Linked DNA regions of Homo sapiens: regions 1 and 3 are each linked to region 2. The links are contacts of gene promoters, found by promoter capture Hi-C in blood cells and fetal thymus (Javierre and others, 2016). All regions are on one chromosome and are shown on one strand. The core of a region is centred on a gene start or on the middle of the fragment in contact, and the rest is flanking DNA. Distances in the headings are between cores, read along the strand shown. Region 1 overlaps RASGRF2 (Ras protein specific guanine nucleotide releasing factor 2). Region 2 holds the start of MTX3 (metaxin 3). Region 3 holds the start of ARSB (arylsulfatase B).

What was found. The method cuts DNA at HindIII sites, captures the fragments that hold promoters and counts their contacts. A CHiCAGO score of 5 or more calls a contact.
Region 1: a contact is called between a fragment that was not itself captured here and the fragment with the promoter of MTX3 in region 2, in 1 of 17 cell types (activated CD4 T cells). The highest score is 7.7, in activated CD4 T cells.
Region 3: a fragment that was not itself captured here is called in contact with the fragment with the promoter of MTX3 in region 2 in 1 of 17 cell types (activated CD4 T cells); the score reaches 6.8 in activated CD4 T cells.

What each region holds. Positions count from the first base shown.
Region 1 is chr5:81,006,285-81,010,610 of GRCh38, forward strand. The region is part of intron 1 of RASGRF2 (Ras protein specific guanine nucleotide releasing factor 2); the gene reads left to right. Among named protein-coding and RNA genes, the nearest start is that of RASGRF2-AS1, 48 kb to the left of the region's middle. The HindIII fragment of the contact is 2,869 bases long and covers 191-3,059 here.
Region 2 is chr5:79,989,220-79,994,038 of GRCh38, forward strand. MTX3 (metaxin 3) reads right to left here and starts at 2,043. Exons shown (of 9, transcript NM_001363818.2): 1 at 1,939-2,043; 2 at 1,375-1,444; 3 at 941-1,017; 4 at 1-25. The coding sequence starts at 2,019. It also overlaps a transcript of THBS4 not described here. RefSeq lists an enhancer at 1,541-1,710. The HindIII fragment of the contact is 4,262 bases long and covers 1,128-4,819 here.
Region 3 is chr5:78,983,147-78,987,846 of GRCh38, forward strand. ARSB (arylsulfatase B) reads right to left here and starts at 2,164. Exons shown (of 8, transcript NM_000046.5): 1 at 1,791-2,164. The coding sequence starts at 2,102. RefSeq lists a silencer at 1,487-2,346. The HindIII fragment of the contact is 1,365 bases long and covers 1,183-2,547 here.

The DNA of each region.
Region 1 (4,326 bases), core at 375-2,874, 1.0 Mb after region 2:
TCTATGGGGATCCTGTTTTGATTGCCCTTCAGACTGGTCTTGATTTCACTTAATATGCTTCTAACTTTGGTTGAAGGACCTTTGAAAGTGAAAAGTCTTTTGAGTTAAGTGGTTTTGGTAAAGCCATGATAGTTTTGAAAGTGCAAAGGTGTTTCTGAAAGTATGTTACCTTCTAGAATAGTCAGTAGAAAGCTTCATATGTAGTAGGCAGAGATAAGGCTGTAAGTGTGTCAGAATCTAATAGTTCCATACCCCAGAGCAGCTAACCCACTTCTTCCTCCTGTGTTTTGGTGATTTAGAAGCCATCAAAATGCTTATTCCCTTTGCTGGGGTTCAGAAGCTGATGCCCCGAACTATGGTGCTTTGACATGCTGAACCGAGGAAGGAGCCTTGAGACCTCTCGGATCCCCCTTTCCCCACTTCTCCGTCTGCCCCAAAGCACAGGATAAAATTGTTCTCTGAAGTTCCCTTATCTGCCTAAAGTCCAGACCTGCTGAAGAAGAAAACAATTACTTCTGGTCACTTTCCTGAGTTTTCATTAACTGAACACATGTCTCAGAAAGAAAGATTCCAAGTCCATCAACACACTTTTATAGACTTGTCACAAACCATTGTCTGTTCTGCGGGCCCACGAGACATTGTCCCAGGCCATTGTATGTTCCTCGAGTCCATGGCATTCTCCTAAAAATGGTTTACTAACCCCCTAAAATAAGCCTCACTTCCCCATCTCCCTTTCTCCTCAGAAGGGTATATAACCATTAACCATCTGTACCTCATTGCGTGGTGGAGTAATCACTGTGTGATCCGCCTGCCTCCGTACACATTTATAAATGTGTATATGCCTCTTCTCCTGTTAACCTTCCTTTTGTTAGATGTGGCTTCTCATTCGGGAGGGGGTGTAGCTTTCAGGAAACCTGCAGAAGGTGAAGGGGAGGAGTTTTCCCTTGGCCTCTACACTTTCATAATGCTCAAAAAGTTTCTGATTGTGGTTTCAAATTATTTCCTGTGTTGGAGGAAGGTTGAACTTGTTTTTCTTTTTGCCTACTTTCTGGTTTTCAAGCTCAGCAACTTCATTAACTTTTCTAGCTCCTGAGAGACCACTCTGTGCAGTGAAGCAGGCTCTTCTGCCCTGAGGAAGGGGTTCATTCTTTCCCAGGGACCCTCTCCCTGGAGCTGCCTTGAGGCCAGAACACCTCCACACTGGCACCAAGTGTTTAGAGAGCCCTATTGTCAGCTGCCCCGGGATGTCATTTTTTCCTTCATGGTGAGGGTTAGTTGGCCATATACTCCCTCGCTTTCTTTTTTCCATTAAGAAAAATTCACGCCAACAAACTCAACTTTCTCAGGGTGGTCCTTGCATTTATGGTAAATATTGAAGGCTGATTTAGGACGAGGAAAGTGAACTATTCAGATCAGCTGCCCCTCCACGATAACTGCTTGACTTGCTCACCTAATCGCAGGTGCAACTGAGACAGAAGGATAACCATGTATTGTTCTTCAAAGGAGTGACCTCATCCATGGAGGAGTCACCTAGTAAATGCAAAATGCTGAGCAAGCAGATCCGATGCAGCTTCTCATTTGGGAGGGGGTGAACTGAAGAGAGAGACGTGAACAGGAAAAGCAATGGAAGCATCCTCATCCCTTGGCCATGGCAGTTATGGAAGGGTTCCAATACCCTCAGCTTCCCAGGACCATCCAGCAATAGTATTTATTGTCTTCATCTATGGTAAACACTTTCTGATAGGCCAAAATTGCACTGTCTCGTCTGATTTACAGAACCAGCTATCTCAAATGTGTAGTAATTGGAAAAAGTGGATGATGATGGTTTCAGTTTTCTTTTTCTTTCTTTCTTTCCTTTTTTTTTTTTTTTTTTTTTTTTTTTTTGAGACAGAGTCTCGCTTCTTCGCCCAGGCTGGAGTGCAGTGGCACAATCTCGGCTCACTGCAACCTCCTCCTCCCGGGTTCAAGCAATTCTCCTGCCTCAGCCTCCCCAGTAGCTGGGATTACAGGCATGTGTCACCACGCCCGGCTAATTTTTGTATTTTTAATAGAGACGAGGTTTCACCCTGTTGGTCAGGCTGGTCTCAAACTCGTGACCTCCAGTGATCCACCTGCTTCAGCCTCCCAAAGTGCTGGGATTACAGGCATGAGCCACCGTGCCTGGCTGGTTTCAGTTTTCATACAGCTTATTTTAGCACTTTGACACATCTTGCACTGTTACTTAATCTTATAATGTTATTTAATTGCTTTATGAGTGCCTAATTTAGCTTTTCAGCTAAACTGTAATCTTCTTAAGATCAGTATATGTGTGTCTATAAAATACATACCAGCATGACACTTTCAAAAATAAGATGGTTGATAAAATAATGGATAAAATGGATTCCTCCCCTCTTCCTTCTCTTCTTCCCTCCCTCCTTCCTCTCCCTTTTGTAGCACCTCCTGTCTCTTAGGCTGCTGATTTAATATTAGAAATGAGAACAGAAATGGCTAGGGTGGCATCTAGAACCATTATAAAATTCAAGGGCAGAATAGAATTTTGTAGACTTGATGATTTTTTGGAAATTTATTTTCTGGACATACTTCTTATCTATACAGGCTCCAGCCCATCTATTTCTTCCTTTCCGTGTGATCCATCCTTTTGTGGTTGATTGTCTCAGCAAGTAGAACTTCAAGTCAGAGTCCTGGGTTTTGGACTCATGATCTGGTTGGCTTTGCCACATAGATAGCTTTCACAACAGAGACTCACAACAGAGTGTGGCAGACCAGTGGGAGTCCACTACTACCCCTGGGCCTGCAGCTGAGAGCACATGCCCTGATGGGTTGTGGGTGATTGTCCTGCCTCTTTCAGCCTGTTTCCTCATCTGTAAAAGGGGAATAAATTATGGGCTCATGACGAGAACTCGATGAGAAAATGCAGGATGGATCTCAGAACAATGCCTGCCATATATTAAGCACTGAGTGGATATGTAACCATTTTCATGCCTAGATAGGCAGTTAATGAATATCATCATATACTGCCCAGGTTAGTGAACTTCCCTTATACCCTGAGAGCAGATGTAAGCTTCTAGAGGGTAGGAGCCATCAACTGCCTAGAATGTCCAGATATAGCATCACATATGGGGCCACTCAGTCGCTAAAATTGTGATGTGAGTGTTGTTCAGTAGCTTATTATCATGTCTGTCAGATGGAGCATCACATCAGACTTGGCAAACATGAGGAGCAAATATCCCTAAAGCAAGTCTAAAAACAAACTTCCATAAACCAAGTTATTCATGTCTTTCATCTGTTCTTGAGAATCTCCACCAATGGAGTAACCCAAAAGTCAAATAAAAAATTGTATATACCAAGATTTATAAGGAATAATTAAAAACCTTCCAAATGTTAAAATAGGCAAATGTAATTTAAGTAAATATTTAAGTAGTATATCATTTCTGTGTAACATTATGTACACTTTATAAACGTTTACTACAGTTTTAAGTAATATGGAAAAATTCTTAAGTTATCATGTGACCTGAAAACTATGCTGGAATAGCATTGCATATGCAGCATGAGCATGACTGTATTAAAATGGTTTTAGAAAATAGATTGGAGAGGCCGGGTGCGGTGGCTCACACCTGTAATCCCAGCACTTTGGGAGGCAGAGGCGGGCGGATCACAAGGTCAGGAGTTCGAGAGCAGCCTGGCCAATATGGTGAAACCTCGTTTCTATGAAAATGCAAAAATTAGCCGGGCATGGGGTTGGGTGCCTGTAGTTCCAGCTACTCGGGAAGCTGAGGCAGGAGAATTGCTTGAATCCTGGAGGTAGGTTGCAGTGAGCTGAGATCGTGCCACTGTACTCCAGCCTGAGTGACAGAGTGAGATTTCATCTCAAAAAAAAAAAAAGAAAAAGAAAATAGATTTGAGAGCTATACATCAAGATTTAACAGTGGTTGTCTTTGGATGATGGTAGGATTATGAATGAATTTTCCTCTCTAATTTTGCCTCTCTGTATTTTCCGTATTTATATATGTGTATTATTTTCACGGACGAAAAACTCAAACTTTTTCTTAAGAGGGAAATAATGTGCATAGATGGTGGACAGAAGCCATGGTATTTGGCTTGTATTTTTACAATGAAAAAAGGCCAAATGTGTAAGGCACAGAACTGAATTATTTGTTATGTATGAGAAGAGTGTGGTGTGAGCTCAATGAAAAACGCATTACTCTGGAGAGTTCGAGAGAAGTTTTGCTTTTTGAAGATTTTTGGAGAAGCAGCAAAAATGTAAAGTTCTAGGTAGTGCACATGAGCAAGTGCCAATTTTCTTTTCCAGCACCGAAGTTTGGTATT
Region 2 (4,819 bases), core at 793-3,292:
AGAGTTCATAATCAGCATTATATTTCTATTAAAAAAAAATAAACCAAAGAAACTCAGAAGTCAAAGAGCAGCCCAAAGACAGTAAAACTAATCAAATCAGGATTCATATTTTTCCTTACAAATAGCAAACGTGGTATTAAAATGGGAGAAAGAGAAATACAAATCCAGTGAAACCTATTGCTTAATGCACATAAAGTTCTTAGCACAGCATCACATACACAATATGGTCAATAAATGTTACAATATTAACTACTATTATTTTCATGCTTGTTAATGACCTAGTTCAGTGCATGGCATGTAGTACAAACAAAGCAACTATTATTTTTAACAAGAAGGAAACAGTTCCAATTGGCTGTGTTTCTCCCCAAGACAAAAGAAAAAACCTTCCAATTTATAAAAGTTCAAAATGTTATTGACACAATTTTTTTAAGTACAGTATTGGCAAAACAAATAACTTATCCATTCATATAAATCTTTACATGTTTAAACATTTTGGATACATAATTCTCTACTGTTAAAACATTTAGATACATTATTCCATAAAACTGCTATTAAGAGCTTTTTAAAAATAATATAGTTGCTAGTTGGTGAGAGCTCAGGTGTCATGCCCAGCACAAAATGTGTACCAACTATGTGACAAAATACACAATCCTATCAATAAGTTTAATAGTGAAAATGGCTAATTAAATCTACTTACATACAAATTTCAATAAAATTCAAGCAAAGTTTATTAAAATATAAACTGACTACCTCTTCATATGACTTTCAAATCACAGAACTCATGCTTTAGAGCAGTGATTCTCAAATCTATTTTTACATCTTGTCCCAGGTATCTCCAATTGTCTAATGAGTTGGCAAAAAAAAATAAATAAATAAAATAAAGCCCAACATGCAGGGATCAACAATCTACCAATCTACTTCTTCAAAGTGAACCACCCACCTGTTTTCTTAAAAAGTTTAGTATTTTTGCTGGCTGAGAAACCATGTCGTCTTCAGTTGTCAAAATTGGTACATCGCCTATAATCAAAAAACAGTTTACATACAAGGACACAGTGTGATTTCCTCTGAGAGATTCCAATATCCTAAAAACTATAGCAGTTGCACATTTAGAGGGGAAAAAATGAGTAAGCTTGTCTTGGTTTTTTTGCTGTTTCACAAAGAGCGGTTCTAAAGAACATTTTCGTTTCTCATAATTTCCAGTGATTTCGCTTGCACTTTGAGGTATTACTCAGAATGATCAAACCATAAACAACACAGAGCCAAGGTCACGGTAAGAAACTAAATCCTCAATATTATAGCTATATACCTCACAGCTTTAAATGGAAGAAGAAAAAAAAGAGTGCAGAAAGGGGAGTGTAAAGGTTTACACTATACCTCTTGAACCTCTCCAGGTGTTATCTATCACATTGACTTTCAAGGGTGCACCAGAAAATTTGGCATAAGCCTGAAACAGAGTTTGCAATCAAACATTTTAGACCAAGTGCGTAATGCAAAGCTGCAGAGCAGCTTTACTTCACAGCCCCATCCCCCAAAGGCAGAAGGCGACTGATACTGAGGCCGCATCCCTCCCCGTGATCTCAAGTAGGGACGCGGGCGCCAGCCACCCGGCTTTCGAGGACTTTGCTCCCCAAAAGGTCCTGGGGATGCAGAGTAGGGAGGGCGCGCCCCTTGCTTCGGGGTTTCACTCCACCGCCCAGACAGCTTTGTGAGGCGGACAAAACTCGGAGCCAAGCGGAGAAGCCTTGATGTCGCCGCCGGCCTTCGGCGGGGGTATCGGCCAGGTTGGGACTCGTCGGTGGGAGGGAGCCCAGGGCAATGCAGCGTGCAGCGGCTCGGCCCTCCTGGACCCCGCAGCGCAGCGGGAAACTGGGGCAAGTCAGCCTGGCGCCTCCAGCCCCGCCCCTTCCTCCTGCGCCCTGGCCCGCGAGGCGGCCTCACCATCACCACCAGGGACTCGCTGTGAACCGATGGGAGTCCCCAGCCGCCTCCCCAGCAACTGAGTTCCAAGGGGGCCGCCATCTTGCGCGGGCCGACCTTTACTATCCCGGAAGTACTTTTCCTCCTAATTTCCGGCACGTGAAACGCGGGGGCGTGGCTAAGGGAGGGAAGGGTAATTTGGGGGCTCTTGAGAGATGAGAGAAACAACGACTGGAGGGATTAAGAAGAACTCTTAGGAGCAGCTTGGCCTAAAGGGTAAGAGTTGTGTGCCTTAAGTCAGACCCACCAGTAATTCTTCAAATATTAATATTTATTAGATCCCTAGAGTGTTCCAAACCCTTTGAACATTAAATCTGTGTGATGCCTAAATTAACCTGTTTGTAAAACAGGGATGACCCAGTATTTACAAGATTGTGGTATTTACAATGTCGGAGAGAAAGAACTTGGCACACAGGAGGCACTCAGTAATTGTTCAACCCCTTCTCCCATGTATGTGGCCTCTGCCTGCCTTTCCAGCCTCAACCTGTTCTCACCCTCATGTTCACTGGCACAACCCTGCTTAAAAGTTACAGTATTTCTGAACGTCAGGTAAATTGTGCCCACCTTCAGTGCTGGTCCTTCAATCTGGAATATCTTTCTTCCCTATGCAGCTGCTCCCTCAAAAATGAGCTTAACTCACCTTCCCTGTGATGTTTTTACAAAGTTAGGAGCTCTGGGTTCTTGTAGCCCCTTGTGCATATTTGAATTGTAGCTTCTCTCCCTAGCTACAGACCTTTTGCCTTTCACAGAAGAGGGCTAGCTTCATAGGTTTGGGACCTGTGCAGCCACACAAGGCTCTGTGCTTAAAAAGGCTCCTCATTTGGCTGATGCTCTTCCGTCACTGTCTTGAAATTCTTAAGTTTTGAACAAGGGGCTCTGCATTTTTATTTTGGACTGGGCCCCTCAAATCATGTAGCTCGTCATGTCTGTGGGCCTAATGAGCACAGACTAAATGTTTCTTGACGTTAAACCTGACAGTTTCTCAGAAAAACTATTAAAGAGGAAATTTTGGTCTTGGAAATGCTATGATCCAAACATATGACTGGGTCTCAGAGTTAGAACTTGGGTGCTGGGTCTTTTTTCTAGAAGGCACAGTAGTCTTTCTGGGACACCCTCGCAGTCATGCCTCTGAGTTCTTTCCTCTATTCCACTGAGATGGTCGGATCTTCTTAACTAAAACTCAAAAGAAACCTCTGCAACTTTTCGTAAAATTACTATTCAACAAATATTTGCTAGGCACTCCCTTACTGTTTACATAATCATTCAAATTACAGTGCCAGCCTGCTAAAGTCTTTTTTACATGTTTCAAAACCAAGAGTTCTAAGAAATGAAAAAGAGATATGTCAGAAATGAGAATTCATTAATAATAACTGTATAATTGGAAAATGCATAACATATGTACCATTAAAACTGTCGAAACATTTATTGAGCAGCTCCTATGTCTTAGACATCATAAGGTTCTGGAACAATACAGAAATATATAAAACATGAATTCTGTCCTCGGGAGTTTACAGTGCACAAAGGAGATATACACACACCAAGGTGTAACAAGTCAGATAATCACGAGTAGGGTTAGAAATATAAGCAAAATACTACAGAAACACAAAGGAGGGACAGTGCATCCTCTGTGTGATCAGTGGAGACTATCTGTTGAGTCTTCAGTATAAAGAAAGTAAAGTAATTCAACTTTCAGATTGTAATGGAACCTCCCTGTTTTGAGGGTTAGAAATGTCAAACCATAGACTGACAAAGGCAAGGCAGGGGGAAAGAAAATCCTAAGCCATAAAGCTGAGGGTCCATATACTACATTCAGGCATTTAAAACAATCATACAGAAAGAATGTGGATTTCCTGAGCCTTGTTTGTAGCAGGACTGAGAGGAGTGAATGAACATTCTTAGTGGACACATAACACAGTTACTCAGTTTGGCCTTCTTCCGTACTGCTGCTACTACATACAGTGATTTCATTTGCATTAAAGAGAAATTAAATCTCTTCCCTTAGTGTTGAATTGAGACAGAATAGCATGTCATTGCATCTGATGAAAGAATCCTTACACACAGGTTTATTAGTGCATAGATAATAGCAATCTTTTATTGCTGCAGTTCCTCTTGAGAGTCTGTATCTGTTAGATTGAATTTAAAAAACTCTAACATAGCTGATTGCACAAACAGGCTGAATACTGTTCCAGAGAACCACACAGAAAATTGAAGCCTTCAGAAATTATGCCTGGTATGGTTAGTTGGCTCCTGTGCCTTTTCCTGGCTGTTTTAGAGTATTGTTCAGAGTTCATCTAAATCATAACTTCAGATTCCTACCGGGAAGAATACTGTCTGCAAAACATCCATGTTTGTGTGGGATGGCCTGAATCACAGCTTTATAATGAGTATCCCAGACAGTGTTTTCCCCAAAAAAGAAATCTTATTTTTCAAAAGATGATCATTAAGAATGGTTTCATCTGGTGATAGTCATCTGAACTCAGGCAACCTGACCTTGGCATCCATACCCATCCTTCATGTGTTTCTTAACTTGGGAGCCACAGTGCAAGGTTTGTTAGGCTCTTTTTGTCTGGGTGATTAAGAATCTGGGAAATGGTGCTGTTGGGAAAGATGAAAGGTTTGTGACAAATGATGGTACAGTATATGGTCCCTTATGGGAAAATTAAATTGTAAAGTCTTAAATATCCCTTTGAACTTGAAGATTCTGTAATTTGTGTTCAGATATAAAATCCTTAAGGAGGGGAAAGAACAAACACTGAATAGAAAAAAGGAGAGCTGAGTTCTTGACTTGGCCTCTGATTAGCCATATGCGCTTGGGCCAATCATTTTACATTGATACCTCTGC
Region 3 (4,700 bases), core at 615-3,114, 1.0 Mb before region 2:
GAGTTCAAGCGATTCTCCTGACTCAGTCTCCCGAGTAGCTAGGACTATAGACGCATGCCACCACACTCGGCTAATTTTTGTAGTTTTAGTAGAGACGGGGTTTCGCCGTGTTGGTCAGGCTGGTCTCGAACTCCTGACCTCAGGTGATCCACCTGCCTCAGCCTCCAAAGTGCTGGGATTACAGGCGTGAGCCACCGTTCCCGGCCCAGGAATGGGTTTCTGAAGTTGGTATTTGCTTTCCTGTCCAACTCTGTTGGAAGGGAGGAAGTTGGAGAAATGAATGGCCCTTCCATTCTTTTGCAATCTGAGTTCAGTTCTCTTACTTCAAAGCAAATGCAGAACCCTTTGGGCAAACCTCACCTTTCCCTTCTTCTTCTTCTTTACTGGCACATCCCTTTACTCCCACAAAGTGTCCAGGGTGAGATTTACACAATGTAGGGGATTCCTAATTACACGTAGCAGCCAAGGTCAGAACCGCCAAAAGTACTAAGGTGGATGGTGAAGGGAAGCATCCTTTACTCCCATTTCTAACCTTGGCTACAGCTATTTCTCACCCTTAGCAACACCCAATCTTTCCTCTTTATAAAAGCCTTCAGACCACTGCGCATATCTTTATCACAAGTAAGCCCTCCCTTCTCTTGATCTTAGGACCACGTGAGGCTAGGGTTGATCTGACAGGTTATGCGAACACACACTTGGGAGGGCAACATTCAAATATATATCCCCTGTCAGTAGCACAGTAAGCTCAAAATATTTTTGTTGAGTAAACAGCATATGTACTCTGTGAAGGCATGCAGGTGGTATCCAACAGTTCCCATTTACTGTATTTAATATGGTCATAATAACTTCAGGGTCTTAGAAATATGACAATCGTATTCAGATTGAGGGGAAAAAAGGCCAATTTCATAAGCCCGGGACGACCAGTGGATGCAGGAAAAGCACAACGGACACTGCCTTGACCACTTTCTAGCTGTGCGATTCTTATGCCAACGAGCCTTTACAGGCTTCCTGCCTCGTCTGTAAAACGGGGTAAAAACAACTACCTCATGCACTGTTTCAATAATTCACTTTAAAAACAACAAAGTGCTATGCAAATGTTCTTGATATTCTTAGCCATCTAACATCTATGCACGCTCTACATTTATATTTCCTTCGTTAACTGTGGAGCCGTTCCTAAAGGGAAGCTTTTAAAGCGATAATGAAGATGCTCAGAAGAGTTCAATACAAGGTTACATGTGAAAGGAATGTCAGCAGCCTAAGAAAAATCAACCTAGCATCAGGTTTCATTCCAGGGGTGTTGAGAACCTGGAAAAAAATAATCTTTGGTGGGACACTCCTAACCTATCACCGCTGGGTTCCCACGGGCCAGGGTCGCACCCACGGCGAGCACCCCTTCATTTTACCTCTCCCCTCGTCTTTGCTCCCAGCCCACGCCCTCCCCAGCCTCCCACCTCAGGACCGCTCCGCCTGCCGGCCGCGGCGCCCAGCACCCGGCATTCCCATAAACCCCTTCGCCCGGAGCTTCAGAAAACGAAAGACAAAGCCACCCGCCCAACCCGGCGGCCGGGGCGCGGGTCCGCGGGGCGCCAGAGCCGGGCATGCGCAGAGGCCGCGGCGGGCTGCCGGCCTGGAAGAGCGAGGTTGGGGCGAGAAGCCGCCGGGACCCATAACTGGGTCGGCGGTCCGAGCCCCGCCTGCCAGCGCCCGCGGCCTCAAGGGCCGGGTAGGAGCGGCAGGGCGCCGGCGAAAGGCGGGGCGGGGGCGGCGCGGGCGGCGGGGGCGCCGCGTACCTGGTAGCGGCCAGTGAGCAGCTGGCTCCGCGACGGCGTGCACAGCGGCTGCGTGTAGTAGTTGTCCAGGAGCACCCCGCCGGCCGCCAGCGCGTCCAGGTGCGGCGTGCGGATGCGGGAGCCGTGGAAGCCGACGTCGTTCCAGCCTAGGTCGTCTGCCAGCAAGAAGACCAGGTGGGGCGGCCGGCTGGCCCCGGCGCCCGAGCCCGGCGGCGCCAACAACAGCAGCAGCAGCAGCGGGAGGACGACGGGGAGGAGCAGCCGCCGAGGTCCGGGGCCTCGGGGCAAGCTCGCCGCGCCGCGCGGACCCATCCTTGTCCGCCCGCGGTCCCAGCGCCTGTGGCGCCACCAGCCCCTTGTACCGCTGATAGAATGAGGAACTGGGCTGCCGGGGCCTGCTCCGCCCCGGCGCGGGACGGCACCCCCAGCGGGCCGTGGGCTTGCGAGGCCGGGCGCTCGGCCCCCGCCGCCTCCGACCCGGGCCCCCGGCTGCTGTGGCGGAGGAGGAGCCAGAGACGAACCCGCGGGCGCCCGCTGCCCGGCTTCTTGGAAACTCAGCTGACGCTTGGAGGGCACCAAGGCCCGTTATCTTCCCCGGCAATTAAATTTGCACTGTGGTTTCCTAAAAAAAAAAGATGTGTTCTTTAATAACGCTTCACAATTTACAAAGCATCTTCACAGCCCGCGTCTCCTGTAAAGCCTGCAACAACTCTGACAGTTAGACATTATAATTAGTGCCAATTTTTCATAAGAAAAAAGCTTATAAATGGTTAAACCTCTGACTCAGATCCTGAACCATGATGTCTAGCTAGCAAGTCATTTCTAGCACAAGAGCCCAGCCTGTGGCAGGTGGGAGGACGGTGAAAAGGCAGAGGTCTAAATAGCCTTTCACATTCATTTATGCGTAGTGTACACCCATGAAGCCGCTTCCTCCCCACTAGCAAACAGGAGGCCAAACACACAGTCTGATTGCACGGTGCCCTTTGGAAGGTGCGGTTACTTTCAAGTTGCCCTGGGAGGATTTGGAGTGTTGCGTGGTCATTGAATAAATAGCTCATTCGCTTGTCCGGATATGACCCCACTCAGAGCTGGCTCCCCCACTAAGCAGTGACACTAAGAAGCACACAGTATCTAGTTAGCCTGAAATATCTGAGTGGAAGGAAAAAATCCTTTAGTCACGTGCTTATTGAATTAGGAAGTTAGCCGTATGACCAGTAGATTCCCGTTGCCATCCAGACTTTCTGTCTACTCTGTCTGGAGATATTATAGTTGTTAACAGGTGTAGGGGAAAATTTTTGCATTGCCTAGAGACCATACCCTTCCAGGTTGAGTCTGATTCCGTGGAAGTTGTTTACAACTTTATAAGTTATAGATAAATAACAATGGAAAATAATTCTTATTTATATATACACAAATGAACTTTATCCAGCGGAGTAGCAATCCTTCCCCTCCACCACTACCAAGGAAAACAGTTTCACCTCCGCTTGCATATTTATTTTAGTATTCCTGATCTGTTCTTTGGATTGTCCTTTGAATTGGTTTTAACACCTTACCAATTTCCTTATTAATGAGTTAAATAAAATCATGTATTCACTTTTATATTTGTATGAGGGTCATGATTTTACCTTTTTTTCCCCAAGAATCCTTTAACACATGAAATGTTTGCCTCTTACATACACTTTTTTTCTTTGCATGAAGTAGATTAGTTTATGTTGTATGCACTTTAATCTCTAGTGGAATCAATGAAATTTAGCAGAAAAAAGTGAAAATTTTAGCATTAAATTCAAAGAATAACTTTTGAGAGAACTGTTTGACTCATTATGTCAAGGGTTGAACTTTTCATTTAAACACCCTGTAGAAGACCTTGAAGGACTGAGAATTTCCGCTGTGGTTTTGTGTCTTTCTCCCCCGTAATCCTTCCTATTCTCCTTGATAAAAATTAAGAAGAAATAATTGATGGGTGCTAATCTGCAGGAACAATTCCTCCTTTAACCAACTTCCCCTGAAACTAGCTAAACTTGCACAGATTCTTACGTCCTATGTTTTTAAAATAAAAGCATATGTTAATAGTGCTCTGGAAATGTGCAAATTGAAGAGTTAATTCTATTTTCCATCTATGTATTGAACACATAATGTGCAGTACAAGCTAGTTATTTTATAAAATCTCTCAATTGGAGTTTGATGTTTCTTCACAATTAGATAGAGGTTATGGATTTGTGCAGGAATACCACAAAAAGTGATGTGGTATGTTTCTCGGTGCTTCCTATTAAGAGGCACATGATGCTGAATTGCTTTCTTATGGGATAACTTTGTTAAGGTAAACATTTCCTCATTGTAAGGTTAATATTTTCTTCTTGTAATTAATAAATATTTTATGGAGAGATAATTTGAGAATATGTAAATATCCTATTATGCCTCACACACATTATTTTGCTTACCAGTTTTAGTATCTTGCTTCTTGCTTCAATTAGTTATAATTAGGATGGCTACCAAATGCTGATTTTCTAATTCCTTCATTTCCTCTATATTTATGAGTTGCCTTTCTACTGTAAGGAAGAACTTTCCCTTCTCATTTATTTATTTCACTATGAATTCATGAATTCTTGTTTTAATCAATATGCTATAATCCTTTGCTATAGTTATTTCAATGCTCAAATTTTCTCTGTTTTGGCCAGTGGGAGCCCCTACAATCTGGCTCATATCCTTTTGGCATGTCCTCTTGAATCTTTGAGCATGTCCACACATTTTGATACAATGAGATTTTCTAGCCTCAACTTGCACTTTTCCTCTCCCAATCCTGGAATCAGACATTTCTCCAAGCAACACTGATTCTTTTTTTTTTAGACGGAGTCTCATCCTGTCGCCCAGGCTGGAGTGGAGTGGCGCGATCTCAGCTCACTACAATCTCGG